Regions from separate parts of the Homo sapiens genome. Here all the other regions are linked to region 5. Evidence: promoter capture Hi-C in 16 types of primary human blood cells and fetal thymus (Javierre and others, 2016). All regions are on one chromosome and are shown on one strand. The core of a region is centred on a gene start or on the middle of the fragment in contact, and the rest is flanking DNA. Distances in the headings are between cores, read along the strand shown.

Evidence for each region. Contacts are between HindIII fragments. The CHiCAGO score rates a contact against its expected background, and 5 or more counts as called.
Region 1: a contact is called between a fragment that was not itself captured here and the fragment with the promoter of DYNC1I2 in region 5, in 2 of 17 cell types (fetal thymus and activated CD4 T cells). The highest score is 6.0, in fetal thymus.
Region 2: a contact is called between a fragment that was not itself captured here and the fragment with the promoter of DYNC1I2 in region 5, in 4 of 17 cell types (fetal thymus, total B cells, naive B cells and 1 more). The highest score is 7.2, in fetal thymus.
Region 3: a contact is called between a fragment that was not itself captured here and the fragment with the promoter of DYNC1I2 in region 5, in 1 of 17 cell types (total B cells). The highest score is 5.1, in total B cells.
Region 4: a contact is called between a fragment that was not itself captured here and the fragment with the promoter of DYNC1I2 in region 5, in 5 of 17 cell types (fetal thymus, total CD8 T cells, naive CD8 T cells and 2 more). The highest score is 6.5, in fetal thymus.

The regions. Positions count from the first base shown.
Region 1 is chr2:172,446,580-172,452,404 of GRCh38, reverse strand. All of the region lies in intron 1 of ITGA6 (integrin subunit alpha 6), which reads right to left. Among named protein-coding and RNA genes, the nearest start is that of ITGA6-AS1, 17 kb to the left of the region's middle. The HindIII fragment of the contact is 8,425 bases long and covers 1-5,825 here.
Region 2 is chr2:170,930,154-170,935,972 of GRCh38, reverse strand. The region is part of intron 1 of GORASP2 (golgi reassembly stacking protein 2); the gene reads right to left. Among named protein-coding and RNA genes, the nearest start is that of GORASP2, 3.8 kb to the right of the region's middle. The HindIII fragment of the contact is 5,206 bases long and covers 1-4,513 here.
Region 3 is chr2:170,948,711-170,954,740 of GRCh38, reverse strand. It overlaps GORASP2 (golgi reassembly stacking protein 2), which reads right to left. Exons shown (of 10, transcript NM_015530.5): 3 at 4,999-5,202; 4 at 4,451-4,537; 5 at 3,283-3,413; 6 at 1-91. Among named protein-coding and RNA genes, the nearest start is that of GORASP2, 22 kb to the right of the region's middle. The HindIII fragment of the contact is 3,326 bases long and covers 1-2,913 here.
Region 4 is chr2:172,430,591-172,435,935 of GRCh38, reverse strand. All of the region lies in intron 1 of ITGA6 (integrin subunit alpha 6), which reads right to left. Among named protein-coding and RNA genes, the nearest start is that of ITGA6, 5.7 kb to the right of the region's middle. RefSeq lists enhancers at 654-1,154, 4,414-5,345. The HindIII fragment of the contact is 459 bases long and covers 3,332-3,790 here.
Region 5 is chr2:171,683,662-171,688,891 of GRCh38, reverse strand. It overlaps DYNC1I2 (dynein cytoplasmic 1 intermediate chain 2), which reads right to left and starts at 1,423. Exons shown (of 18, transcript NM_001378.3): 1 at 1,265-1,423. RefSeq lists an enhancer at 1,253-1,422. The HindIII fragment of the contact is 4,493 bases long and covers 1-1,575 here.

The DNA.
Region 1 (5,825 bases), core at 2,678-5,177, 760 kb before region 5:
TTTCCTGCCTCGTGTGTTGCTTTGTTGCTGCTCACACCTTTAGACAAGACTTGCTGCCACTGACTCCCACCAGTCCCTGTTCCCTGGAAGAAATCAAGGAAGCCCACCTTGATCTCATTTGAGCTCCTAATTTTACAGAAATAGGGACAAAGGTTCAAAGGGAGCCTCACAGGTCGCATGGTCAACTACGCAACCTGCATTTAAGGCCTCTGGTAGTCAAAGCAATGAACCACCTATAAAGAACTGGAAGGTTGAGGGAAGCCGGAGAAAGAAAACGGACTACATTCCACCTCTTTCTAAATCAAATTCCAAAACCATATTTCATTACAACATCTACAAGAAATCCCTAAAATGTCAAGTTCCTTCACAATCTTAATAGGTAAAATTACCAAAGTAAAAATGAAGGGAGGAAAAGACGATAGAGAAGATAATATAAATATCTTTAAGTACCATGTGATTTCAAAAAGAACAGGTTTTTGAATCATAAAAGTAGATACTAGAACAGTACACCACCACTCCCCTCTGTCCCTCGGATTATTAGGAGTTTGCAGGAGCTCGCAGCAGACAGTGAAAGTGGCCACCTTCAGGCAAAACACAAACATAAGGGTCGATCACGACAGCAAGGTAGATGGATGTACAAGTCAGTCGATACTTGCCAGTTTCTCCTCAAGTTTGCTGGTTGCTCCTCTCTTCCACCAGCTCTTAGACCTTTTCCTCATCTCTAGCTGCGCTCTCATCCTGTGGCTGGAAACACCATCCATTCACTGATAACTCTCAAAACACCTCTTTTCAGCCCCAGCCTCTCTCCTAACTCCATACTCAGATATTCAATTGCCTAGTAAACATTTCCACTTAACATCTCATATTTAACACATTCAAAATAGAACTCAGCTTCTCCCCCAGCCAGGCTTGCCATAAGCATTCCCTTTTTTTTTTTTTTTTAAGATAGTCTCGCTCTGTTGCCCAGGCTGAAGTGCAGTGGTGCGATCTTGGCTCACTGCAACCTCTGCCTCCTGGGATCAAGTGATTCTCCTGCCTCAGCCTCCCGAGTAGCTGGGATTACAGGTGCCCACCACCACACCAGGCTAATTTTTGTATTTTTAGTAGAGACAGGGTTTCACCATGTTGGCCAGTCTTGTCTTGAACTCCTGACCTCAACTGATCTACCGGCCTTGGCCTCCCAAAGTGCTGGGATTACACCACCGTGCCCGGCCTCCTTCCCTATTTTTATTTAAAAATTTTTTTCTTTTGAGACAGAGTCTCACTCTGTCACCCAGGCTGGAGTGCAGTGGTGCAATCTTGGCTTACGGCACCCTCCGCCTCCCAGGTTGAAGTGATTCTCATGCCTCAGCCTCCCAAGAAGCTGGAATTACAGGAATGTGCCCCCACGTCCAGCTAATTTTTGTGTGTGTATATATATACACACACACAAAATATATTTATATATACAAGATAAATATATTTATATTTATTTAAATTTATATAATTTATATATAATATAAATATATATTTGTATATAAATATATAAATATATTTGTATATTATATAAATACATAAATTATATATATATTTTATATATATATACACATACATACAAAATATATATATATTTAGTAGAAATGGGGTTCCGCCATGTTGGCCAGGCTGGTCTCAAACTCCTGGCTTCAAGTGATCCACCTGCCTCAGCCTCCCAAAGTGCTGGGATTACAGGCTTGAGGCACCATGCCCGGCCCCCTTCTCTATCTTACTAAATGTACACCATCTACCCAGGTGCTCAGGCCAGAAACCTAGAAGTCATCATTGATTCTTCACTTGCCCTTATATCCCACGTCCAATGCATCAGTAAAGTCTACAGGCTCTACCTCCACATTTTACTCTGACCACTTCTCAGTAGTTCCTTTCCAGTATTCTCACTGCCAACTTTAATCCAGTTTGTGATCAACCCTTTCATTTGTGTTTTGCTTCAAGGTGGCCACTTTCACTGTCTGCTCTGAGCTCCTGCAAACTCCTAAAACAAAGGCCTGAGTCACCATCACATCATACCTGAACAACTATAGTATCATTCTAACTGGTTTGCTTCTACTCTTGTTCCACCCGAGCCCGTCCTCCACATCTGTTCTTTGCAACTGCTGTTCTTTGCACATCTCAGGTCATATCACATCATTCCTCTGCTTACAGCCCTCCAGTGGGTTCCGATGGGCAATGGAATGAAATTTGAATTCCTGCCACATTCTACAAGGCCCATGGTGAGTGGCCCTTTCTCTGCCTCTCCAGCTGCACCCTCTAAGGTGTGCACTCCTGCCACACTGACTCCGTTTCTGTCCTTTGAACATAGCAGCCTCATTTCCATCTCAGAGTAACCGCAGTCGCTTCCTTTGGTTCCGAACACTCTTGACTCAGATCTTCGCTGGTTGCATCCTTCACATTCCTCAGGGCTAACTCCACCATCCTCTTCTCTCTCTTTTTTTTTTTTTTTTTTTTTGGAGAGGAAGTTTCACTCTCATTGCCCAGGCTGGAGTGCAGTGGCATGATTTCGGCTCACTACAACCTCTGCCTCCCGGGTTCAAGCAATTCTCCCGCCTCAGCCTCCCAGGTAGCCTGGATTACAGGCATGTGCCACCATGCCGGGCTAATTTTGTATTTTTAGTAGAGACGGGGTTTCTCCATGCTGGTCAGGCTGGTCTCAAACTCCCAACCTCCCAAAGTGCTGGGATTATAGGCGTGAACCACCACACCCAGCCAACCATCCCCTTTCTCACAGAGGCCCTTCCTTGAACAGCCTAGCTACCAGCTTTCTCTAAATCACCCCTACATTCACCTGATGTAATAATCTTCACAATCTTCATCAGTACCTGAGATCGTGAAAGTCAGCTGTCCCATCTTTCCTCCCCTAGAATGCTGTTAGCTCCATGGGCACAGGGACTCTTCTTCTGTTCCCTGAATACAACATCTGGAGCAGTAGCTGGTATATCCTTGGCATTCAATAAATGGGATGAATACAACCTTAGGTACCTTAGGTAGATATTATTCATGCATCCCAATATTTTTCTTCGCCAAAAAAGTAGCAAACGAACTACTCATATTTGTAGGACATTCTATAATTACAAAATCCTTCACATATACTTTTATTCAAATATCTCAGCAATTGGGGGGTAAGTATCTTCATTCTAGAAAATAAAAATCTGAGGCCCAGACATTCCCTGACATGGGTAGGGCTTCCAGCCCAGTGCCCTTCCCACTGTGCAGCATTCTTCCCACCACAATTGGGAGCCCTCCTCCTCCATCTAGCCACACCCTGGCCATCCACCAGGAGCTGCCCCTCCTCCTTTCACTTCCCAGGCACACAAGGACTTTGACGCCTGTGCTCACATTTTCCTGCCACCTTGCCCCCAACCCCATAAACACTGTCAATTACCAAGCTCCAGCTCCAGGCCTTACCTACGATTTTGCCTTCAAGACCCCTAACTCAAGTTTCATCATCTCCAAGGGCAAGTACTTCTCCCAATTTCACTTTACTAGGCTATAAACTCCTTGAGGGCAGGAAGCAGATCCTGCTTTTTTTTGTAACCTTAAGGGTGTTTGGAGAAGAAAAACCAAACCCTATTTTTAAATTATACTTACTGGATAATCCAGTTGGGCAAGTGTGAGCTAAAATTCACAGTGGAACAAATCCAGCCCGGAATTTTCATGTTTACACAGAAAGTTGGTTAAAAGGCTGAGGCTCTCTTTTGACTATAAACTACAACTCCACATTCAAAAGACTAGATTTCTAATAACCTTCTAAGAAATCACAAACATAGCCTACTTTCAAAGGAGGCAAACAAGCTATTATTAATAATGCCCCAACAGCTATCATCTCCTATGCTCTCATATTAGGTACTCTGCCTAATAACATGAGACACTATAAGAGACAATAATATAAGAGACACTATTGCCATTACCCATTTTACAAATGTGGACACAAATTGAGAAGACAAGTAACTTGTCCAAGGTCACACAGCTGGTAAGTGACAAACCAGGAGTTGTGCCTAGCACTCCTGGGCTCCCAGATCTTGCTCTAAACCACTACTCCAAGAGTCTCCTTTCTGCTTGATTTGATGACATCACTACACCCCAGTTTACTCATTAAAAAAAATCTATTACAAGAGCATGGTCAGTTATAATTAACGTCTATTAAGTACTTTGAGATCTGTGCTAAAGGCAAAATTAAAGGCAAAGAATACCTGTTACCTTTAACTGGAGCACAAGACCAGCAATTTTATCCTGGCCTTCCCAAAATTTCACAAGATGCCTTCTTTCCTGCCTCCTTGAAAGAGCATGCTAGAACTAAACCCATTTTCTAGTGAATATGATGCTCATGTGACATTTGCGCCTGAGGGTTCTAGTTCTTAACCTGACTCAGTTAAGTCCAGACTGAGTGTCTGGACTTTACTATGGGTGTGTCTCATTAAGAGCAAGGGAGCTCATGCAGTAAAGGAACATCCAAAGCAGAACGTGTTTTTAACATCCACAACTTTCAACTCCTTCAGCTCAAAGTCTTTACCACGTACCGGGGGAAAAAATGTGAAATCACAACCCTCAATTTCAACTATTTAAAGGGAATATGCTAATAAGAGCGGTCAGATCAGGAAAATGGAGGAGGAGACAGGAAAAGAATTCTGGAATTCTGGTTCTATCCCTAGGATCTATTTTTGGTGTGACCTTGGTCCACCAACACTTGCTTCTTACCTCCCAACATAAGAATTTCAATAACCTCAAGGAAAAAAGAATAACATTAGCAACAACATAAAAATCACAAAAGCAACTGGCCTGCATTTAAAATGATCAAGAATTCCACTTCAACAGAAATTTGTAAGTACAGAAATAAATATATAACTAGCTCATTTTAAAATAAAATTGGGGCTGGGTGTGGTGACTCACACCTGTAATCGTAGCACTTTGGTAGGCTGAGATGGGCGAATCACTTGAGATCAGGAGTTCGAGGCCAGCCTAGTCAACATGGTAAAACCTCGTCTCTACTAAAAATACAAAAATTAGCTGGGCATAGTGGTGGACGCCTGCAATCCCAGCTACTTGGGAGGCTGAGGCATGAGAATAGCTTGAACCTGGGAGGCGGAGATCACACCACTGCACTCCAGTCTGGACGACAGAGTGAGACTCCATCTCACAAAATAAAAAATAAATAAATAAAAATAAAAATAAAATTTGGCTAGGCGTGGTGCCTCACACCTATAATCCCAGCACTTTGGGAGGCTCAGGCAGGGAGATCACTTGAGGTCAGGAGTTTGAGACCAACCTGGCCCACATGGCGAAACCCCATCTCTACTAAAAATACAAAAATTAGCCGGGCACGGTGGTGCACACCTGTAATCCCAGCTACTTCAGAGGCCAAGGCACAAGAATCGCTTGGACCTGGGTGGTGGAGGTTGCACTAAGCCAAGATTGCGCCACTGCACTCCAGCCTGGGCAACAGAGTGAGACTCTGTCTCAAAAAAATTAAAAATAAAATTAAATTAGGTGAAAAGTTTTCAGCTGACCAAGCAATTCATACCACTAAGACATCTCTTAAAGAGCCACAATAAAACACTGTCTACTGCAGCAAGGAAAAATGAAAGTCCAAGTTCTGATAATTGTCTCCAGGCAATCCTGTTCTTTCAGTTTCACAAGGCAGCTGCCAGATCTTGTCAAATGTGGCATTTAATCATTTCCTGTGCTTCTGAATTACCAGATACCCGACTTATCAGTTGCCAAATGACATTTGTGATTTGGAGTCCAATCTCTAGTGAGTTTTCCTTTCAAGAAACCAAGTCTAGGAAACTGTACAC
Region 2 (5,819 bases), core at 661-3,160, 750 kb after region 5:
TTAACCACTAACAGCAGATCTCCCCCAGTGAGAATCCTGAGGATGATAGCGCAGGCATTAAAACACACCTCATCACATAAGTACGAAAGCATATACAGGCCGGGCGCAGTGGCTCACGCCTGTAACCCCAGCACTTTGTGAGGCTGAGGTGGGTGGATTGCTTGAACTCAGGAGTTCGAGGGCAGCCTGGGCAACATGGCAAAAACCCATCTCTACCGAAAATACAAAAAATTAGCTGGGCATGGTGGTGTGTGCCTGTAGTCCCAGCTACTGGGGAGGCTGAGAGGGGGGAGGATCACTTGAGCCTGGGAGTTGGAGGCTGCAGTGAGTGGAGACTGTGCTACTCATTCCAGCCTAGAGTGAGACCCTGTGTCAAAAAAAGAAAAAAAAAAAAAAAAAAGAGGTGGGGCGTTGGGGGTGCTGGGTGCAGTGGCTCCCACCTGAAATCCCTACACTTTGGGAGGCTGAGGTGGGCAGATGACTTGAGGTCTGAAGTTCTAGACCAACCTGGCCAATAAGGTGAAACCCTGTCTCTACTAAAAATACAAAAATTAGTTGGGTGTGGTGGTGGGTGCCTATAATCCCAGCCACTTGGGAGGCTGAGGCAGGAGAATCACTTGAACTGGAGTGGCGGAAGTTGCAGTGAGCTGAGATCGCGCCACTGCACTCCAGCCTGGGTGATAGAGCAAGACTCCATCTCAAAGAAAAAAAAAGTGTATATAATCAACATGAAACTACTAATTTGTTCAAGGCCTATTAATATTAGAAAAAGTTTATGTTCAATGATATAATTCCTAAAAGTATCCCAAGATTTATATACATTGTATTCCATGGCTTCAATAAACTGAGACATCCTGATTCCTACATTTGAAAGCAATTTAAAAGAATGTTTATTAAACAACTTCTGGGCCTTTTATTAGAAAAGATCAATTTTGGGCCTGGCACAGTGGCTCACGCCTGTAATACCAGCACTTTGGGAGGCCGAGGCCTGTGGATCAGCTGAGGTCAGCAGTTCGAGACCAGCTTGACCAATAGGGTGAAAGCCCATCTCTACTAAAAATACAAAAATTAGCTGGGCACGGTGGCAGGAACCTGTAATCCCAGCCACTCTGGAGGCTGAGGCAGGAGAATTGCTTGGACTTCGGAGGCGGAGGTTGCAGTGAGCTGAGATTGCACAACTGCACTCCAGCCGTGGCAACAGAGCGAGACTCCATCTCACAAACAAACAAACAAACAAAAAAGAAAAAAAAGGAGAGATCAATTCTGGGGGCAGGGTCAGACTCTTCAGGTTTCACAATTATAACTTTATATATAGAAAACAATACCAAATAACCCTACTGTTTTCTTTTTACCCATTGTTTCCAGAATGAGTGAGAAGGGAGCCAGAGTGAGATTTCTGTGTTAGGGGATGAGGTAGGGCGTGGTGGCTAACACCTGTAATCCCAGCACTTGTCGGAGGTGGAGGCGGGTGGATCACTTGAGGTCAGGAGTTCGAGAACAGCCTGGCCAACATGGTGAAACCCCACCTCTACTAAAAATACAAAAATTAGCTGGGCGTGATGACAGGTGCCTGTAATCCCAGCTACTTGGGAGGCTGAGGCAGGAGAACCCGGGAGGTTGCAGTGAGCCGAGATGCGCCATTGTACTCCAGCCTGGGCAACAAAAGCGAAACTCCATCTCAAAAAAAACAAAACAAAACAACAACAACAACAACAAAAAAAAAAACAGGGTATGAGTTTCAAAAGTTTGAGAAAGACTGTTAGAAGAATAAAGAAGACAATGACTATTGAATATCAGAAATTAATTTTTTCAAAATAAGTACTAAATTGAAATCCCATCACAACAGGATTGCAGATAGGTTAGTTAGGCACCATTTAAAAAGAGCAGTACCTTTGGGAGACCTCATCTCTGACAAAATAGAAAAAAATATATAAAAAGAGCAGTTCCATATGATAGAAGATATGGTGTAGGCATTGCATTTTCTATAGAAGTAATTCCACTTGCAGTCACTTGCTTCTCTGAGAACACCTAAATGTTACCCAGTCTGCAGCAAATAGCTCAGAAGATAAAAACCTGTTATTACACTCGTGACACATTTCATGTCAATGACCCTTCCTTCAAAATATCCATCACCTCAAAATCTCTCCCAGAAGCAAGCATGAGAAAGAATGAAAATGCCATTTTCCATGTCTCCACACTCCACACAGTCTCCACACTGAATACTTGCTCCAGAAAGTATGCCCTCAGCTATTCCCCATCTCTTTTAAGTGTGGAACAGAATATGAATATTTTAATTTAAAAGCAGATCCTATAATAGGCATCTGTGAGGTCACTCCAAAAATTTAATTTTGTGAACTATGTCACTAATAATTTTTTAGAGAACCTTGTTTATTACCTTTCAGCTTTATTTTCCTGAGCACTCAAATGTACCTGCACATACACAGGGTGTTTGAAACACAATTTTGAGCGAATGTATAGCATTCTATCTGTGGTTAGGCCCTGATTTGTTTAACAATTTCTCACCTGTTGGATATTTTGGTTTAATTTAATTTTGAAAATGGTCTTGTTGGGTTCACTGGATAATTAATGGAAAATATAGGCAAAAATTTGATATTAAACATAGTTCACATGTAGGGGGTAACTTACAATAACTTCAAAAACTGAGAAGCCCTAACATTTTTCCTGCCTTACATTAGGATTGGAGGACCAAAATAAAAGTGCCATTCATAGTGAGCACAAATCTGACCCACTATATAAGGAAATCTGAAATGCTATTTTTTAAAAAAAGACTTCTACACAAATTTTTAAATCCTCCACTAGGAGTCCACTTCTTTTTTAAAAGTAATTTTGCATATCTACACTTTGGGTGACTATACAAGTATTTAATGATCACTTCAGAAATCCTAGAAAATATATTAAAGTTAAAAAAAAAGTCACCATCCACTAATAATTTTTTAGACAACCTTGTTTATTACCTTTCAGCTTTATTTTCCTAAGCACTCAAATGTACCTGCACACACACAGGGTGTCTGAAACACAATTTTGAGTGAATGTGTAGCATTCTATCTGTGTTTAGGCCCTGATTTGTTTAACAATTTCTCAGCTGTTGGCTATTTTGGTTGTAATGTTAACCTCTTAAGATAACTTTTGGCCATATAGTCCTTGAATACGTCATATTATTCAAAATCTTTGTGAAACATGGCTAAGGGGCGATGTTAGGCCCAGGAAAAAAAGGAGACTAAGAGAAATACTTCAACAGTATTTGCCTTTAGATGGTGGGATTACAGGTAATTCAGGTTCTTTGCTGTACTTTTTTACCACATCCAAATGTTCTCTAATGGACACATGTTGATGATCAGAAAACAATGTAGTTATTTACTAAAATAAAGATCAACATTTCTACAGACAGCTACCATTAAAATTCAATACAGTAATCTGGGAAAAGGATGTATGTTATGGGAAAACAAAAAGTAGGATTTAAGGTTGTAAATATGTACTTATAATAACAGAAGACTAGATAACCAAATGTTCAACACCAGGAGGTACTCCTTAACCAATCTATGGTACAAAAGACTACCGTGAGCTAACTGAAAGCATGAAGCAGATGGCCACTTGCTACTACAGAAAGACTGCCAAGATAGGTCAACAACTGAGAAGACTGAGGTGTGCAACAGCATGGATCATGATTACAAGGTAACAAAAAGAAAGAGAGAAGGGTGGAAGAAGAAGAGACTCTTTTTTTTTTGAAAAGAAGTCTCACTCTTTTTGCCTAGGCTAGAGTGCAATGGCACAATCTCAGCTCACTGCAACCTCCGCCTCCCAGGTTCAAGTGATTCTCCTGCCTCAGCCTCCCAAGTAGCTGGGATTACAGGTGTGCACTACCATGCCCGGCTAATTTTTTATATTTTTAATAGAGATGGGGTTTCACCATGTTGGTCAGGCTGGTCTCGAACTCCTGACCTCAGGTGATCCGCCCACCTCGGCCTCCCAAAGTGGGGATTACAGGTGTGAGCCACTGTGCGCGGCCAAAGAGACTTTTTTATAAGCATAAAATATATCTGAAAGGCTATGTAAAAAACTGTCCACAGTGGTTACTCTGGAGTGGGGATAAGAAGTTGGGTACACAATATGATCACAATCTGAAAATATGCACTCATACATACAGAACACATAAAAAGGAACTACACTGCTCATAGCAGAACTTCTGAATCCATTTAAAGGCTGTCCCCTAAATATTTTTAGATGGATATTGAAAAATAATGAAAAAAATGGAAAGCTCAATCTATCTGAATTATAGGGACTCATGAAATCAAAAGACAGCAGTGGATATAAATGTTATTATAATTGGTATTTCAAAACCCAGTCAATCATATTAAGTTTTTACTACAACAAGATTGGCCAGGGAATTGGTTATTCAAGAAAACTAACTTCTAATTAAATCGTTCTAGAACTTGTTGAATATGGGTGATTTTATTCAAAATTTTCCTGCCACAGTTACTCCAGTTTACAAGCTTGGTAATCTAACAATGAAATATATCGCTGTCCATTTAGGCAATAACAAATGAAAGGAAGACATTTTTACATGTTAAGATTTAACACAGCACTTTTCCCTCTAAAAACAAAGATAAGAAAACCAATTACAGAATCAGGGGCAGAGGGTCTTAGGAAGGCAGACACAAAATTCTCCTAAACTAGATCATTACTATTTTAAAGCTCTCTTTAGTAAAAGTCTAACTAAATAAGAATTATTTCATCGTGTGCAACATTAATGCTCCAGATGCAGATTGGTAACTAAGGTTGTCCCTAGTTTTTCTAAAAATCAGATGTATAGATTAATAACACATCTGCACTACTGAATATGTATGAATGCTGTTTCACTTGACTGCACTTACATAAAGAAAATACAAACTCATTTTATGTCGGAATGCAGTCACTAAGTTGGAATCCTTTTGATGTGTATGGCTTTCTTTCAAACACGCGACTTTTTTTTTTTTTTTTTGCTTATTAACACTAATGTGTTTTACTGAGTTTCCCTGAGTGCATGTATTATAAAAATATCATGAATCCCCAAGGATTCATGACCACAATCGGTCACTGTGAGAAACAGCTGGTAATACTGGGTAACATCCCAGGGTAGAGAACTCAAAATCAGACCAGATAATAGAAAGAAAAGCACAGCTTTCACCTCACATTTGGGAACTGACAATTCTCCTTCCATTTCCTCTCTCAGTGTGGCTCTTGGGTGTTTGGTTAGCAGAAGGGGATAGGAAGATAATACGGTTTATTTATAGGCTCCCTTTTCCTTTCGGGGAAAAAAAAAATCACCCTTTCCTACTAAGAGTATGGCAGAGGAGGGATTTTTAGTGTAATGGAAAGGCAATAGACACGATAATCCGGAAGATCAGAAAGATGATCTGTCTCAGCCCTATCACATAGACAGCTGGGCAATTTAAGAATGTGTCTCACCTAAAACATGGGACCCAGGGCAGGAAATGAAGGTAGCACCAGGAAGTGCACTCTCTTACTTTCAGTGAAAACGTTCTTGCCTGTGAGGAGCTAATATTGAGTGACACTCTATTACACCCCTAAATGGCGCTACACGCTGCGGCCACTCTGTTGACTGTTCATGTTAACACTCACACAGGTGTCACAGCAAACAACCATCAATGCTACTTCTAAAGTCGCCCGGTTCCATGAGGAAAAGACCACATGCTTTGTACCACCCAGGCCCAGGCCGTTCATAGGTAGGGGCTTAGCTGACGCCTTTTGAGATACTATGTTTCTCTGCGTCCTGGAAGTTAAGCTAGGGTTGTTTTCCT
Region 3 (6,030 bases), core at 1-2,500, 730 kb after region 5:
CATTTGTCCTGGAAGAGAAATTTTCTTTCCTTCCTCAAATGGGCGTGTAGGTATTCGATGCAAATAACCATATCCAATGCCACATCCTAGGCTATAAAAACATTTTTTTCTTAACGTTGTTATCTATCACAGCTTGTATTTCTTTGAGGTGTTTTTTTTGGGGGGGGCGGGTAACCCAAGAGCATAGATTCAAGTTGCCCTGAACATGCACTCCCTTCTTTGAGATTTTAAAAGATAAAAACAAACAAATTTCTATTCTTTTAGATAATGTCATCTAAGCAGAGGTCTCCCAGACCACCCCACAGAAAACAACACCCTGCCCTCCACTGTGGATATCACCCTTACTCCTTTATTTTTCAAGAATTCATCACCATCCAACACACTGCATATTTATTTACTATCTATCTCCCCCAACAAAATGTTAAGGTCCTGAAGGGCAGAGACCTTGTCTGTTTACTGCCTTCATAGCTGCCGGCACATGGCAGACATTTGATGATTACTCGCTAAACAAATGACATCGATACAGCCTTTCCACTGAAGAGCTCTAAGCACGTCTGTATGATGACATCATTTACACATTCCATAGTTCTCTTTCAGAACCTGACACAAATCAGTCATGTATGTTCAACCCAGATCTCTTCTATTTCATCCTCCCACTGCCACCAGAGGCATTTTTCTAGTAAGATGTGATCACATTGCTTCTTTCTAGTCTGATGTCTTCTCAACATTCCTTTCTCTTTCCTCCCTTTGGGGAATTACTTCTCTGCTGTTGTGTGCAGTGCTGGTAGGATTGTCAATCAGAGTGTCTGCCCTGCCCAAACCAAGGGAATGGCTCATGGTCAAAGCCAGGCCAATTTCTCTTGCCCATGGCTGCAAACCTTGGGAGTCAGAGAAAAAACAAAAATGGGTTTAGTAGAATGAATGCTGATGACATTGCCAAATACTTCTTCCTATCTAAATCCCTAGGTTTTCTGAGTCCTGTCCTTTCTACATCTGGTTCTTCAGCTGTTTCCTTGATTATATGAGCTAATCCATATCATTAAGTATGTTATCTGCTTATGATGGTGACAGCTAGTTTTTACCATTTGAACCCAAAACCCCTTACTGATACAATTATCACAGCCTCAACTGCTCAAAATATATCGGAAGTCCTGACCGTGGTATTTAAGGCTCTCCATAATCAGGTTCCAACTTATGTTTCCATCATGATGTCTTTTATTTCCCAAACAACTTGACAATTTCAGAGTAGGCCATGCATGAATACCTCTGTGCCCTTCTCCTGCCACATCATCTATTATCTCCACTGCCACCAAAAGCTGGGTGAGCAGGCAGTAGCCAACTTCAGCCTTTTTAATTTTATTTATTTATTTATTTATTTATTTATTAAGACAATTTATTATTCTGTTGCCCAGGCTGTAGCACAGTGGCATGATCTTGGCTCACTGCGACCTCTGCCTCCTGGGCTCAAGCAATCCTCCCGCCTGAGCCTCCTGAGTAGCTGGGACTATAGGTGCATGCCACCACATCTGGCTAATTTTTGTATTTTTTGTAGAGACAACGGTTCTTCAGGTTGCCCAGGCTGGTACTGAACTCCTGAGTTCAAGTGATCCACCCGCCTCAGCCTCCCAAAGCGGTAGTACTACAGGCGTGAGCCACCATGCCAGGCCTAGCTCCTCCTTTACCAGTCTGATATGCACAATGATGCTTCATCTCACAATTATTTGTTCCTTCTTCCCTTCTTCCCTCACAATCAAAACTGCAATTCGGCCAGGCATGGAAGATCACACCTATAATCTCAGGACTTTGGGAGGCCAAGGTGGGAAGATTGCTTGAAGCGAAGAGTTCAAGACTAGCCTGGGAAACAAAGCAAGGCCCCATCTCTAAAAAAGAGTTTCTAAATTAGCCAAGTACAGTGTGTACACCTGTAGTCCCAGGTACTCAGGAAGCTGAGGCGGGAGGACAGCTTGAGCCCAGGAGTTAAAGGCTGCAGTGAACTATGATTGTGCTCCAGCCCAGAGAGCAAGACGCTGTCTCCAAACAAACAAACAAAACCCTGCAATTCTCACTGGACTGGGATTTAGAGAAATAAAGATTAAATAATTTATAGTGATCAATTATGGCCTTTCAGAGGTAGCTACATTTGAAAACAAGGTGCTTATTGGTCAAAGTAATTAAGTGGTAATAGACAATGCACTTGAGGCAACAGCAAGACCCTGGGCAAACTTAAAGACAGCCTAAGAATGAAATTAAGAGAAATAAGATTTAATAAATGAAATGTGGTCAGCCTCTGAGGAAGGAATAAAAACAGAAGCACAAAAAGACCAAATGCATGGTCAGAGGCAGACTGACGAAAATGTTCTGTATGGGCCTAGCTAATGCAATGGCCAACTGACAGTATTAAACACATCAAAAGAAAAAATGTCTTCCAAAGAATGTAGCCAAATTTAGTTAACATAATTAAAAATGAAAGAATATGTGATGTTCTTTGCTGTTGGTCTTCACTGTCCACAGAATCTCTTCCTCCAGTTTGATTCCATGCTCAGCAGGCACTCTTGTGGTACTAATCTGACCTGAGTATTCTTCTAACTAGAGAGGGGGTATTTTTCTATTGCAAACTGAAAATTTGTCATTCAAATATAGCAGCTTCTCTGCAAATGTAGTTTATATGAGGAAGTGCCTCTTGTAATGAATAAATTTTGAATGCCTCGAATAGATCCTATTTCTGGGCATTTACAAACCTGGGCAATGGACAATGATAATTTGATCAAGTATTGCCCCATATAGGCCAGACTCTTGGATGACACATCTATCTTACTTTTCTCAAACTGCAACAAGTTAGAATACTTGTGGCGAAACATTCAGCTGGAGAATCTCAGGTAGTGTGGGTAAAGATACTGTGAGCAAACGGAAGCTTTTCCTGCCTGCAGCAACTAAGTTATCCTTTTCCCAGCATGGGATTAGAACTTTTGAAAACATGTGGAATGTTTCCAAATTCTAGGCTTTTCTATAATTATGGCTTATGCGCAATAATTTCTCAATTAAAAAGAAATGCTGTTAGCTCTTAGGTTAGTAAAGAAAAGGACTATAGTATATATACTATGTTCCCTAGATATGTACTTTAAAAAAATTGGTTTCAATATTCTAGACTAGCTCTTCCCTTTTTTTTAAGAGGAGTCTTAAAATAAACCAGTAATTTCTTTCAAAATAAAAACAATCAATGTCTGCAACATATCTGACTGGTATGTTTAAGCAGTCATAACTTAGTCTAAAAAATGACCTTACCTGCCTTCTCCACCCCATGCAGAATTTGGTGTAATAATCACTTCTCGACAGTTATCAGTGTCTGTGTTGTACACATACAGTTTCAATGGTTTTGCTTCATGTGTTTCGATAAGGCTGAATAGATCTTCAGACTGCAAAAGTGTCACAGGAGAAAATGTTTCACGTTACCATACTTTGGAACAGTGTGTCTCAAACCTGGCTATCAGAATCACCTGAGAAATCTAAGAAAAAAATACAGATTCTGGGCCCTGCCCCAGACATAAAAATCACAAGCAGGTTTAATTCAATATATTAATTCAAGCAAAGCCTACTTACTACATACAAGGCTTTATGGCCAGTTCCTTAAGATCTAGTTGGCACTCTTAGTACAATTCTTTTACACCCGAGTTCTACATATTCTGCTTTTACTTCCCATTATTAAGACCTGGTTGTCTGGGCACCTCATTTCTCACTCTTTTTTTTTTCTTCTTTTTTTGAGACAGGGTCTCTCTAACTGTTGCCTGGGCTAGAGTGCAGTGGCATGATTTTGCCTCACTGCAGCCTCAACCTCTCAGGCTCAAGTGATCCTTCCACCTCAGCCTCCCAGGTAGCTGGGACTATAGGCATGCACCACCATGCCTGGCTAATTTTTGTATTTGTTGTAGAGACAAGGTCTCACTATGCTGCCCAGACTGGTCTCGAACTCCTGAGCTCAAGTAATTCTCCCATCTCGGCCTCCCAAAGTGCTGAGATTATGGGCATGAGCCACTGTGCCCAGCCTTTTCTCTCATTTTTGATTTAGCAATGTATACTTCCGCTAGCTAAGAGACAAGGAAAAGGATGTAATATAGCTGAGCTAATGCTGTCACTGAACAAAAAGGGGAAGAGAAAATGAAATCAATGAACAATTGAAAATGAGAATTTGATTTAGACTTCAGGTATGCAAAGATTTCTGTATATTACACATAAAATCTGTGCAATTGCCGCACAGTATGTGTTTTTCCTCACAGCTATACCTAATAAGACACCTACCAGATGTTCCATTTAACACCCTGAGGCTTAAGTTATTTTTGATCAGCAAAGACTGAAATTTTAACTCTAAATGCAAAGCATGCAAATATCTTTCTCAACTCAAACCTCAATGAGAAAATTTTATATAGTTCTCACTATGAATAAACACACGAATTACCTCATTCATGACTGTATCTGCTCCAATTATATAATCACTGTGTGGTCTAAGACCTGCCAGTGCTGCAGGAGAATTTGATTCCACCTCCTAGAATGACATAAACACACACCCTAAAATTAATATATATAAAATAATCTTCCAAGGTTTATAGTCCAATTTTTAATTATGTTGATTTTTTAAATCTGTATACTTCTGTCTTGCTAGAGATGTGTCAGATGTCAGAAACTACAGAATATATTTTAAACTTCTGAGCATAAAAATTACATAATATTTAACAAATATTTAAAATATTTTTGTAGCTATCTACTCTAACACATCTTATAATGAATAAATCATTAGAAAAAGTTCTTAAACTTGTACATTTGCTTCTCTTCCTCAACTTAAAAAAAAATTGATCCATACTTAAAAAGCAATGAACGCTGATTTTTGGCAAAAATTGCCTATTAATAATATCCTTACAATCTTATTAAGCCAGAAACAACCATTGTTAAAACATCTTTCCACACTGCTTCATGAACCTCCAGTAACAGTTCACAGTTGATACGTACCAGCACATGCCAAACATTTTCATTTGCCCCATCAAAGCTGCAGAAACGAATGCTCACTCCCAATAAGCCCTGGCCGCCCCACAGGTTACTTGGTGTGACTGAGGTCTCTCGCAGTTCCAATGTTTTGCTGCTATAGATAAGCATCTTTACAGGCTTTTCAACGTTTGCTTTCAGCAGATCCTTAAGAGTGTCATTGTCTTTATTCTGTGAACACATAGAAATCACATTCCTTAGTAAATAAAAATTTAATGTTAGCTTAAGCATCCTATGGCCCTATAAGAGTAATATTAATAATCAACATAAATAAAACATTCAACAAAGGTTTCACCAACATTTAAATTTTCTTCTATGTAAAAGAATGTCAAGAAATTAAGAACTCTTACGTTAGCAACAACTTGAAACTGACTTTTTTCTAATAGCTCATTATGGATTATGGAATTTGCAACCCAACATTATTTAGAATGATCTAGGGCTTCAATGTGTAAAAACAAAATATGCCATAAGAAGTCACATTACTAACGAAGTTGTGATGACTTTGATTATAAAAATCTAAAACATTTACTGGGGTTAACGTTTAATTTTGGACTCTATTTCTAAATACATGCTTTATTAAGAGCTGGATAGAAAAGAAAGTAGAAACAGCATATTAAATATTTCATTTCATAAACAAATAAAGGCCAGATGTTGGCCTTTATTTATATGTCAGAGATGTTGTAAGTAATGAACGAAAACTTAAGACTGTTACGAAAAATTAAACCAACCAAGTGGCTACTGTCCTAAGAATTTGCTGAGATTATATAATTTCTTTATCTTAGAACTTTATTATGGGTAAACTCTAAACAAGGTATAAAAAGTGGTTTTAATTTGGTACTTTGGAGCACATCTCTCTGTCTGGTTCTAATAACATTATTCATATATTGTGAAACTTAGCACCAAGAAAACTGACGAGTTTGAGAGAATGAGATGAGAGAATGAATCTTTCTAGTAATCCATTTGTCAACAACCAACAGAAGTCTGACATCTTTAAAAAGC
Region 4 (5,345 bases), core at 2,312-4,811, 740 kb before region 5:
CTCTTGGGGCTGGGCATGGTGGCTCACGCTTGTAATCTCAACACTTTGGGAGGCCAAGCCAGGCTGATTGCCTGAATCCAGGAGTTCGAGACCAGCCTGGCCAACATGGTAGCATTCTGACTCTACTAAAAACACAAAAAAATTGCTGGGTGTGGTGCTGCACACTTGCAGTCCCAGCTACTGGGGAGGCAGAGGTGGGAGGATTGCCTAAGCCCAAGGAGGTCAAGGCTGCAGTGAGCTGAAATCGCATCGCTACACTCCAGCTTGGGCAAACAGAGTGAGACTCTGTCTCAACAAAAAAAAAAAAAAAAAAAAAAAAGAAACAAAACTCTTGGGTTTTGTGTCGTGGCAAAGCTGGATTCCTTAGGTCCAATCAACAGGTTCTCAGCACCTTTGATTGGAAAACAATGGCCTTTTTCCTACCTATCTCTAATCTCTCTGGAGCCTTGTAGAATTGTAAACATTTCCATTTCACAACTTTTATTGTTTCGATACCTTTGTTCTAAAGGGACATACATAATCACACTGCCAGTAAGAGGCCATCACCCGCAAGATATATCAGGGGAATGGGGCCTAGGGAGGATTTCTTACTACCCTCAGCAAGAAGGAAAGAGAACAGAACAACTCCAAACTCTCAGTGCTGCTGAATGGGGCATCCCTACCAGAGGCCAACCATTCCACCCCTTGGCTGTGATTCACTTGGATAAGGATCCTCTCGTTAACTTTACATCACAATGCTTTATCATAATGGCAGCATATCCTGAAGAGAAGGGCTCCTGATTCTGCAAGGACAAAGGAGTTATTTGGCTCAGGAGGGCTTAGGTTCAGTGACATTCTGCCCTCTGGGTCTGAAATGTTTATTATCATTTGCATCATACACACACACACACACACACACACACACACACTTAAAACCACCTCAGTACAAATGAACTTCCTTTTCAAAATGAAGAAACCACAGTGACATTGATATCACCGAGCAAAGCAAACAGAGCTCTTGGGTAAAGAGGCATTACTGGGTGCTTCCTTACTCTTCAACTAACCAGTGTGCCCCTTTCAAATTATTGCAAAGTTTATTTTTATTTCTGTACTCCCAGGCTTAGAAAGCATGTTTCTCTCAAAGGCTTTTCTTATACTATATCTGAAATGGCTTTTCAAAAAAGTAAGTTTCAGATTGTATGACATGCAAAATATACTAGCCGCTTGGCAAATAAACATGCAAGCAGATACCCACGGCTCCATGTCATGAGTTTTTGCCCTTTGTGACTTGCGTTTAGTGGTACTTCATCCCATTCCCCCTAATTCAGAACAGTCTTCTTTACCATTTAATTGGTTTTAGAGACTTAGTTTTCTAAACAGTCTTTCTGCCAATTTAGGATGAGATGAAGCGACAGTGGGATCCAACGTTGGAATCTGGCATGGGGCTGAACTGGGGAGGGTCTGCTGCCACACTGCGGCCTGAGAACAGTCTTCTACAAACATGCCAACCTCGGAATCGGTATGCTGGTTTGAGATCGTCTTGCCTTGTTTATCTAAGCAGAAAAGCCAGATAGCAGATTTGATGGTGGTTATCAAACCCTGTTATTAGTTGACAGGGACCTGCACTGGTGAGAGGCCCATCTACCTGCCCCAGTTCAGGGCTAATTAACAATTAGCCTTTTAACTTAATTCCAAGAGATCAGTGTTTGCAAATCTAAATGCCAGTTTAACAAACCTGTGAAGGAAACACTACTTCCATATTTGCCCACATACTTTCCAACCTTAGGCAGTTTTGTCATCAATAATCCACAAGCTCCTTCCTAGCAAACATTAGTGCCAAGCAAAAAACTAAGAAAAATAAATCGTTTTCAAACCTGCCCTGGGTGTTGTGCAAGTTATCCAGCCTCCTAGGGATGGAGGTGTGGGGGTGCTTTCAAGGTCATAGAGGTCTAAGAAGGCCTGGAAACCAGACAGGTGGTATTCCTTAGCAGTAAGCCCAACCTATAACTGCACCACCCACCCTCCATGGGTATCCAGCTCACAGTCACTGCCCCGTCATGTCTATGCACCCATCTGTCCACTCATCTCTGAACACTGAGACCTCACTGGGATTTATCTATGGCTTAGTAGCTACGAAGGGCTGCTAAGTAGAAGGCATGGCTCTTCTGAGATGCACTTTTCAACTGGAGAGTGGAATGGAAGAAAGGGAGAATGTGATGAAAACCAAACCTTTAAACGTGATGAAAACCAAACCTAAAAGGAGAAAGCACATACACAGCACAGGCCGGGAAGCAGGGAAGATGCAGATTGAAGACCAAGTTTGCTAGACATGCCGCCACCACTGCACCTCTTACAGCCTTGGTTTCCTCATCTATTTAACAAACACAAAATGCTCACTCTGGACCAGGACTATTCTAATGTGCGAGGATACTAGCTTCACAGCTGAAGGCAGGAAGGCCTAGGAAGGTTAGGAATCCTGCACAAAATCATAGCTAGTCAATGGCAGAAAAGGGTTTGATCCTACCTGGCTCTAGGCTCTGCTCTTAGTCACTACATTACACTCTGCCTTCTGTGTAAAGGAGAAAAGCTAGTCTGACTCAAACGAAGAAGACTTTAAGAACAGCTTCTTGGAGCACACTTATGGAAACTGACGTAACAGATCTAGGCTGGGCTGAGAATCACACTTTTATAAAAGGTTGCCCAAGTAGTTACCCTGAAGACCAGCCAGGTTTCAGAACCCCTAAGCTTCCTTCCAGATATAAAGTTATTTGATTCCAGAGTTGTACCCAAGCCCAGAAAGGGAAGATGGGCACCGGGGGCTGAGACTACGTCCACTTCCCACTGCTGCAGTACGTAATCTTTACCATCCTCCCAGGAGCCAGCGGGGGTGCTACACAGATCCCCAGATCCCATGCTATGGCTCCTAGGCTCACCCCCGGAGCAGGTAAGCAGCCTTCCCACCATCCTACCGAAAGAGTTAAATATATCCAAGATTCCCTTACTATCCTTGAAGAAATAAACCTGCCGCTATCAATTCACAAGTGACTTCACACGTGTACTGCACACTTCCATTTGACCCCCACACCCCTGTCAAGTTGCTTTCAGAAAGATCTCTATTCCACAGTCATCCTTCTCTGTCCAGCCTCATAACAACCAACCACCTCAGCAAGTCCCGAGTACCCACTGCAGTGTAGGTCAGCCTGTATTTCTGGGGTTAGGTTCTAAAGTCTGCCTTTAGGGCAAAAGCCAGGTGAAATTTACAAACACTCATGAAAATCCCTTAGCTGGAACCCCCCGCCTTTGAAAAATCAAAAACCAAGAATTAACGTCTTGTGCGTTTCTTTGCTAAGCTTACAGATTCCGTTTCCTCAGAGGCAGAAGACACCAAGGCCTGAGCAAGGAAGGGCAAAGGGTTAAAGAAAGGGATTTCTCCCTCTCTCCACCCTCAGCAGGAAGAGTTGATGTCACAGGTTAAACTGAGTGTATAATATCAGTCTCTATTGTATTTGCAAGGCATATGCTAGGTGCTAGCAGGCAAAGAAATGAATGTAAGACCCCTGCCCTCACATAACCTACAATCCAGTTGGGAGAGATTAGATCATGTCCTAAAGATAGTGGATCACAGTTTAGCACAAAACATCAGAATTGTCAGACACAATGTGCTACAGACATCCAAAGGAGTTAAAGACATTGCTTTAGTGTAGGATGGGGAAATTTTAAACTGGTTCTTAAGCTATGATTATATTCTTAAAATGGGCTGATTCAGCACTAAATCAGTGTTTCAGGCACAATTGACCCTGTCATCTAAGCTTACAACAGTATTTTCTGTTTTGTCTCACTGTCCCTCTTGAAAATACCAAATAATTCACTGGCCTCACTGTCCACAGTAATATGTTGAGCCGAGGTCTTCAGGAAACCATGCGCCATAATTCTGGTACTATTTGGTTATGAAAGCTTAAATTAAATCTCAATATATTGTTATGCTAAGAGAGTCTATATAACTGAGAACACAGAATAACCACTTCTTTATAATAAAGGAATCCTTTTATATAAGCATTTATCCTGACTTCCCCAACAAATTATTTATACCATATAAATACTTTGACCCTTTTTTTCCCCAACCCTGTCATTACTTGGTCTCACACCAGCCTGTGTTAAAATTAAACTTGCCTATTTCTGCTTTCTTGCAGAGTCCTAAGACTTCCTGTAAGTCTCGCTGCCCGTTTTGGCTTTTTCTCTACTCTTAGCATTCAAGGTGACCCAGCAATCCCTGGAAGATGGCCCTGGGCCACATGGCACTCCGAGTGAATAAATGCAAGGAAGCAAGTGCTTAGGTACACATCCTGAATACAGCTCTGATTCTTGGCTAGCTACAGCCACACTTCACTGGGCTTTTTCAGAAGGGAATGGGGTGGAGGCAGGCAAAGAAGGACGGACCCAGAACTTGTTCCAAGGCCAGCTGGAATAGAGTCAATAGTAAGAGTCCAGGCACCAATATTTAAATAGATAGCCCTGACCTATGCATATGGGAAGCAGTTTGATAAATCAACACAATATAGTACACTTCCAAAATTCAGATGCTTGCCGATTTCTCTAGGTCTGAAGAACATTTCTGGCTTTTCCATTTAAAAATGGCATGAGCATGGGTCAGAGATTCAAATCCACATTCTGTTAAGATTCTGCTCAAGCTGAACTTTCAGCTTCAGTTTCTTCATCTGTAAAAAGAGGCAGTTGGACTAGATGATCTCTAGTTCAGAAAATATGATTTTAAGAGATGGAACATGACAAGTCTGAGAAAAGTCAAGAACAAACCTAGTAAGGGTCAGAACAGAACAGACCGCGGGCCTGGAGCATTTCTGGAAGACAGTGGTGGTCAGAGAGAGAGACCCCATAAAGAAGAAAATGAGGGTTGGCAGAAATCCAAAATGACTTCATGAGACTATCTCTTATAGATCTCCTTCTTCTAGGTTCTTCCCTGTGATCATATATAGATCCATCTCTTCCCAGAAGAGCTAAGAGTGATGATTCATAGGCTGGATATACCCACAGTCATCATCACATACCTTCCACCTCTGGGAATGACTCAATCTTAACTACCTAAGAGAAATTAAAGAGTCCAAGGTGCTCAGACCCTGACCTCAGTCACTCGGCGGACCAACTTGGCTGACCATTGAGTAATCTTTTGGAGTCCGAAACTTCTTTAATATACAGCCTGAAAACCTGGATGAAGTTTATGGTATCTACTTCAATTTTATAGTCTCCAAAGCTTTAGGAACACCCGACATGTTTTGGGGCTCTCTGACACAATATTATTCTGCAAAAGTCATAACTGGAGTTTAAAATGTGACTGAATAGTTAAAGGCACT
Region 5 (5,230 bases), core at 174-2,673:
TAAATGCTTTAGATCAAGAAAACTAGGAGAATAACCTCTGGAAAACTGTATTTCCAGAGGTTAGGGGAAATCTCTTAAAAAGCACAATTGTTAAATCTGAACAAAGGTAAGTCAGTCAAGAGGAGAAATTCACCTACTAAGAAGTGGATAAAGGAAATTTCAGCTACTAAACTCCATTAAGACTGGCAAGCGAATTGATAATTTTCAAGCATACGAAAAGGATGAAAAGTTGACATAGCAGACCTGAAATATATACACAATATCTTCCAAGATTTGTTTGAACAAACTAAAAGCAAGAGACCGTGTTTCTTATTCCACTCTTTCTACACCTCTAAACAGCTCCATACAAACGGCTGGTGAAGAGAACTTCCATACGTAACTGTATGCTACGCTAGGCACATTATATTTTGTTCAACGTCAACTGTAAAACAGATATACCAACACTAATTGATATTAAAATAAGCGCATTTTTAAAGCCCAACAACAAAGTCTTGACCAGCTGAACTACAGCTGACCAATCCTCTCATCCTCACAGAAGCCAGAGCCTTCCTCCATGACCGACATGTTCACGTTCTTAAAACTCAAGAGAAGAGAGTCTCTAGAGTTTTGTGCTAGAACCTCCGTGTTCGGGGGCTTTCCATCACACATAAGGTGAGGGGAGACACTATCAAGGCAAGTAGAGATGGCCTTAATTTGTAAAATGGGGCAAGGCGAAAACGAATCACTTTCTCCCCTGGGGTCACGGCCAAGAGGGCGCGGTCCACGGCAGGGCGTCCGGAAGAAGCCAGTGGGCGCCGGACAAGCCTCAAGGCTCCCCAGGCCGCCTCTGGAGGGTCGAGAAGGGAAAGGAGTGGACTCCTCTCGCCGGGCCGCAATGAGTCACCGCACCCAGGTCTCCCCGCCTTTCCTCCCCAAAGCTGGGCCGGGCGGGGATGTCAGCAGGAACTGCCAAGCCGCCCTTCGAGTTGCGACGTGGAACACAGGCAGGGAGGCCTTGAGGGAAGAACAGTCAACCCACCTGTCAGGTGACTGGATGGGGAAGAGTCCTCCCGCCTGCAACTTCCCGGTAACGTCCCTCGCCTAAGCCCCCAACACCAACTGTAGCCACCACCAGCTCCGCGGCTTTCCAAAGCACACAAAGAGGGATGGGCGGCGGCTGCTACGGCGAGAGCTTAGGGACAAATAGCCTCACCAGAACGAGGTCGCTCCCAGAAATAAAAGGTGGGGCCCTGCTGCGAGGAATTGTAGCCCCTCCGTGACTTACCTGTCGTAAAGCAGAAGCCGGTAGATAAAACAAAGAACCCAGTCAACCCAGGGGCCTTAAGTATTTCCGCTTTGCCAAAAACTGGAAAACTACGCCTAATATTCTCAGGCCAGGAATCCAACTTCCGCCCTCGCCTTACAAACTGACACGATCGAGAAGAACTACAAACCCCGGCAACAAGGAAAACCTGCGTGCGACGAGCAGTGCGTTCTGGGAATTGTGGTCGCTGGGCGTCGCAAGGTGTGCTGGGACATGTAGTGTGTCCCCTCCTTTAGATTTCCCACTCCAAGGCCTTCTTCCGTCGAGAAGCTTCTGTATAAAGTATTCTCGTCTGTTGATCCGTGCCCACAGTGTAGTATGTGTTATAGTGTAAGATCTTTGACCCAATATTGGCGGAATTTTAAGGTCTATTTTCCAGTGGTGAACCTGTGAATCACGCTGCTGCACATTTGGTGAAGACGTGAAGTAGACTGTTTAGGATGTAAAACATTATATATATATATGTACATACATATGTAAGTTTTAGGGAAAGAATGTCTTATATAGGCTTCATGTGGCATCTTAGGCAAAATCTAAATAAAAATATGTCAACTGACATAGCAAATAATTCTTTAGTATTTTGTTGCAGTGTGGTAGCATTTTGGTTTTCTCTCAAACAATTTTAGGAAATAAAGCATTTTGTATTATTGGACTCTCAAACCAAGCTAGAATGTTTTCCACAGTTAGATTTTTAACATACAAAGAAAACAAAAGTTACTGGAACATGAATTTACCTGCAATGTATACATTGACACACCTTTTTAAAGTTTAAATAATTTAAAGCATTATTTGGCAGGAGTTAAAGCTAACACCAAGGTAATATCTTTTCTATGTTCTAGAAAACTGATTGTTCTAGAAGTTCTAGATATTGCCCAAGTCTAGAATGAACCTTTATGATTCAAATTCCAAGTCCTTGGGCTTGTGGTCTTTTTCTTATCTTTCTCTGCCTTATCTGTGGTCTTTTGTGTAGAAAAAAATATTCTAAAAATAAATTTGAGAAAGAAAATCCTTGGCTTTCCACAGCTTTTCCCAATAACCTAACATTCAAAGAGCTTTATAGCTATGTTATTTTTTTACTTCTTTCCTAATAGTTTTCATGTATTAATTTGAAAAAAAATTATTATTGATTGCCTACCATGTGCCAGCAATGGTGATGGGTGTTGTGGTAACAGCTAAAATGGACCAGGCGCAGTGGCTCACACCTGTAATCCCAGCACTTTGGGAGGCCGAGGCAGGCAGATCACCTGAGCTCAGGACTTAGAGACCAGCCTGGGCAACATGGTGAAACCCCGTCTCTACAAAAAATAGAAAAATTAGCAGGGTGTGTGGCATGCGCCTGTAGTCCTAGCTAGTCACGAGGCTGAGGCAGGAGGATGGCTTGCGCCCAGGAGGCGGAGGTTATAGTGAGCTGAGATTACACAATTGCATTCCAGCCTGGGAGACAGAGCAAGACCCTGCCTCAAAAAAAAAAAAAAGAAAAAGAAACAAAAAAAACAAAAAACATAAAAATGCACAAAAATGCACATCCTTCTTCTCAAGGGAGAAAGGACACTCGCTCAACTAAGAATGGATGGTTCCTGACTGATGGTTTAACTTATGATTTTTTTCTCATTACAATGGGCTTATTAGAGTAAAATGCATTTTCAACATATATTTTTGACTTAAAATGGGTTTATCAGGACATAACTCAAGGAGCATCTGTATAATGATGGAATTATATAAGGAAGTCATAGAAACACCTGGAAAAACTTTTCAGGAAACTTTTGGAAGGAGGTGATTCTAGAGCTAAGTCTTTGATTCTCAAAGGTTGAGTAGAAGAAGTTAGCCAAGCAGAGAAGATGCAGAAAGGTGCCTTGGGAAGAGAAAAGAATATGGACAAAGGACAGAGGTGTGAGAGCATAGAATGCTGGTGAATTTGGAAATAATTCACAATGGCCGTAGGCTAAGACAGGAACTGGGGAATGAAGCCATAAGCAGGGGCAAAGTCGCACATCCCAGTTTAGATTTAGTCCTACAGATGATGTGAATCCACTGGTAGATTTTAAGAGGGTGCAAGGTATGAGAAGGTTTGCATTTTAGATGACTGGCCTTTCAAAGTAGTCCGGAGAAAGACTAATGTGCTGGTTATTTTCTTTGCCCCCCAGATTCATTTCCTGCCCTTCTTTGCTAAGCTCTATGCCTCTGAGGGTTGACCTCAGTTTCTTTAAGGACTGCTTTGTGGTTGGACATAAAGAAGGCCAAGGCAAGGATATCAGAAGGTGGGTAGAAAGGGAAATTGGGGCATCTCTTCCTTGCTCCTTCCTTCTTTGAGTGTCAGATGTCCAGCAATAGCTTCATTCCTTCATGACTACAGTACCTGCCAGATGGCTCTTTCACCATGGCTCTAGTTTTCCCCGGGCTGTCTGGTGATTTTATGTTCTCCTTTTATCTCTTGAACACCTCCTCTGTAGCTAGTCTCTGAGTGCCTCATCATCTCGTTTGTTCCCTTAATACCCGCTCACCCCTCTGTAACTTGTCCTTTCATTAAAGTATTTTCATGTGAACTATCTTGTGAATTCTGTTTCTTGTTGAGACCCTTGTTGATACAGCTTGCCTAGAGGGATGAGAGGTGGAGAAAGAGGTAAGGTAGAGACTGGAAGCAGGGAATGCAACTGGAAGAATTTGGGTAGAGCCAGCAATTATAAATGCATGAACTGATGCATCATCAGTGAGAATTAAGAAAAGTAGATGGATTGGAGAAATGTTAACATTATGTGAGACTTCTACAGCAATAAAGCAGACTAGATACCTCTTCCCACTGAAAACCACTCAATATACTGGCTGGATAATGTAGCTTTTGAGTGGGTACAGTGGCTCATGCCTATAATCCCAGCACTTTGGGAGGCCAAGGTGGGAGGATCACTTGAGCCCAGGAGTTCGAGACCAGCCTGGGCAAGATGGCAAAACCCCATTTCTGTAAAAAATTTTAAAATTAGCTAAATATGATGGTACTCACCTGTAGGCCCAGCGACTTGGGAGGCTAAGGGCGGGAGGTTTGCTTGAATCCAGGAATTTGAGGCTGCAGTGAACTATAATCACACCATTGCACTCCAGCCTGGGTGACAGAGTGACATCCTATTGCTTAAATAAATAAATAAAATTTAAAAAAATGTTTTAAGATATGAAATACGTAACTAAAAAACCCCCCACTTTTTTGTTGTTTTATTTTTAACACTTTTTTGAAGAAATGCATTAGCAGCACTGATTAGAAAGACTGTACCCTGGACATTACATAGTTCAAACCACTATGTCTTCCTACTTTTTAAGTTGGAAGGGCTGGGGAGGAGTCCTAATAAGCATTAGTGCTGCAGGGTGTTTTCGAAGGGGAGAATTTGCATTTTAAAACTTCTTATAATGGTTTGTAGGAGAGGGTAGAAATATAATATATACAGATGAATTTGTTGAACAAACTCATATCTGGATTTACACTTGAATTCAATATGCCAATGTTTGCAAAATTTTAATACAATTAATATATTGACATAATGCAGGATTTCATTTATATAGAATGCAAAAGAAGGTAAAACTAATCTAATGAAATGTCAGAATAGTGGCTATTGAGGTATAGGGATATTGATGGCAAGGGATATGGGGAGGTTTCTGCGGTGCTGGGAATGTTTCATTTCTTCATCTGGTGGGGGTTACACACATTTACATATCTGTAAAACATTCATTGACCTCTACTCTTAACATGGGTCCTTTTTATTGTATGTATGTTATATTCAAAAAATAGTTAAGAAAAAAGTAGCTATTAAACCATGGGACTTAAACAAATGTATAAAACATCAAAAAGATGTAGCAGACACCAAATTGGAAGAGGAAGGAATTTGAAGGGGTTAAAAATGTATTCTGCTACCCAGCAGTTCAGGCATCTCAAAATATTCCAGG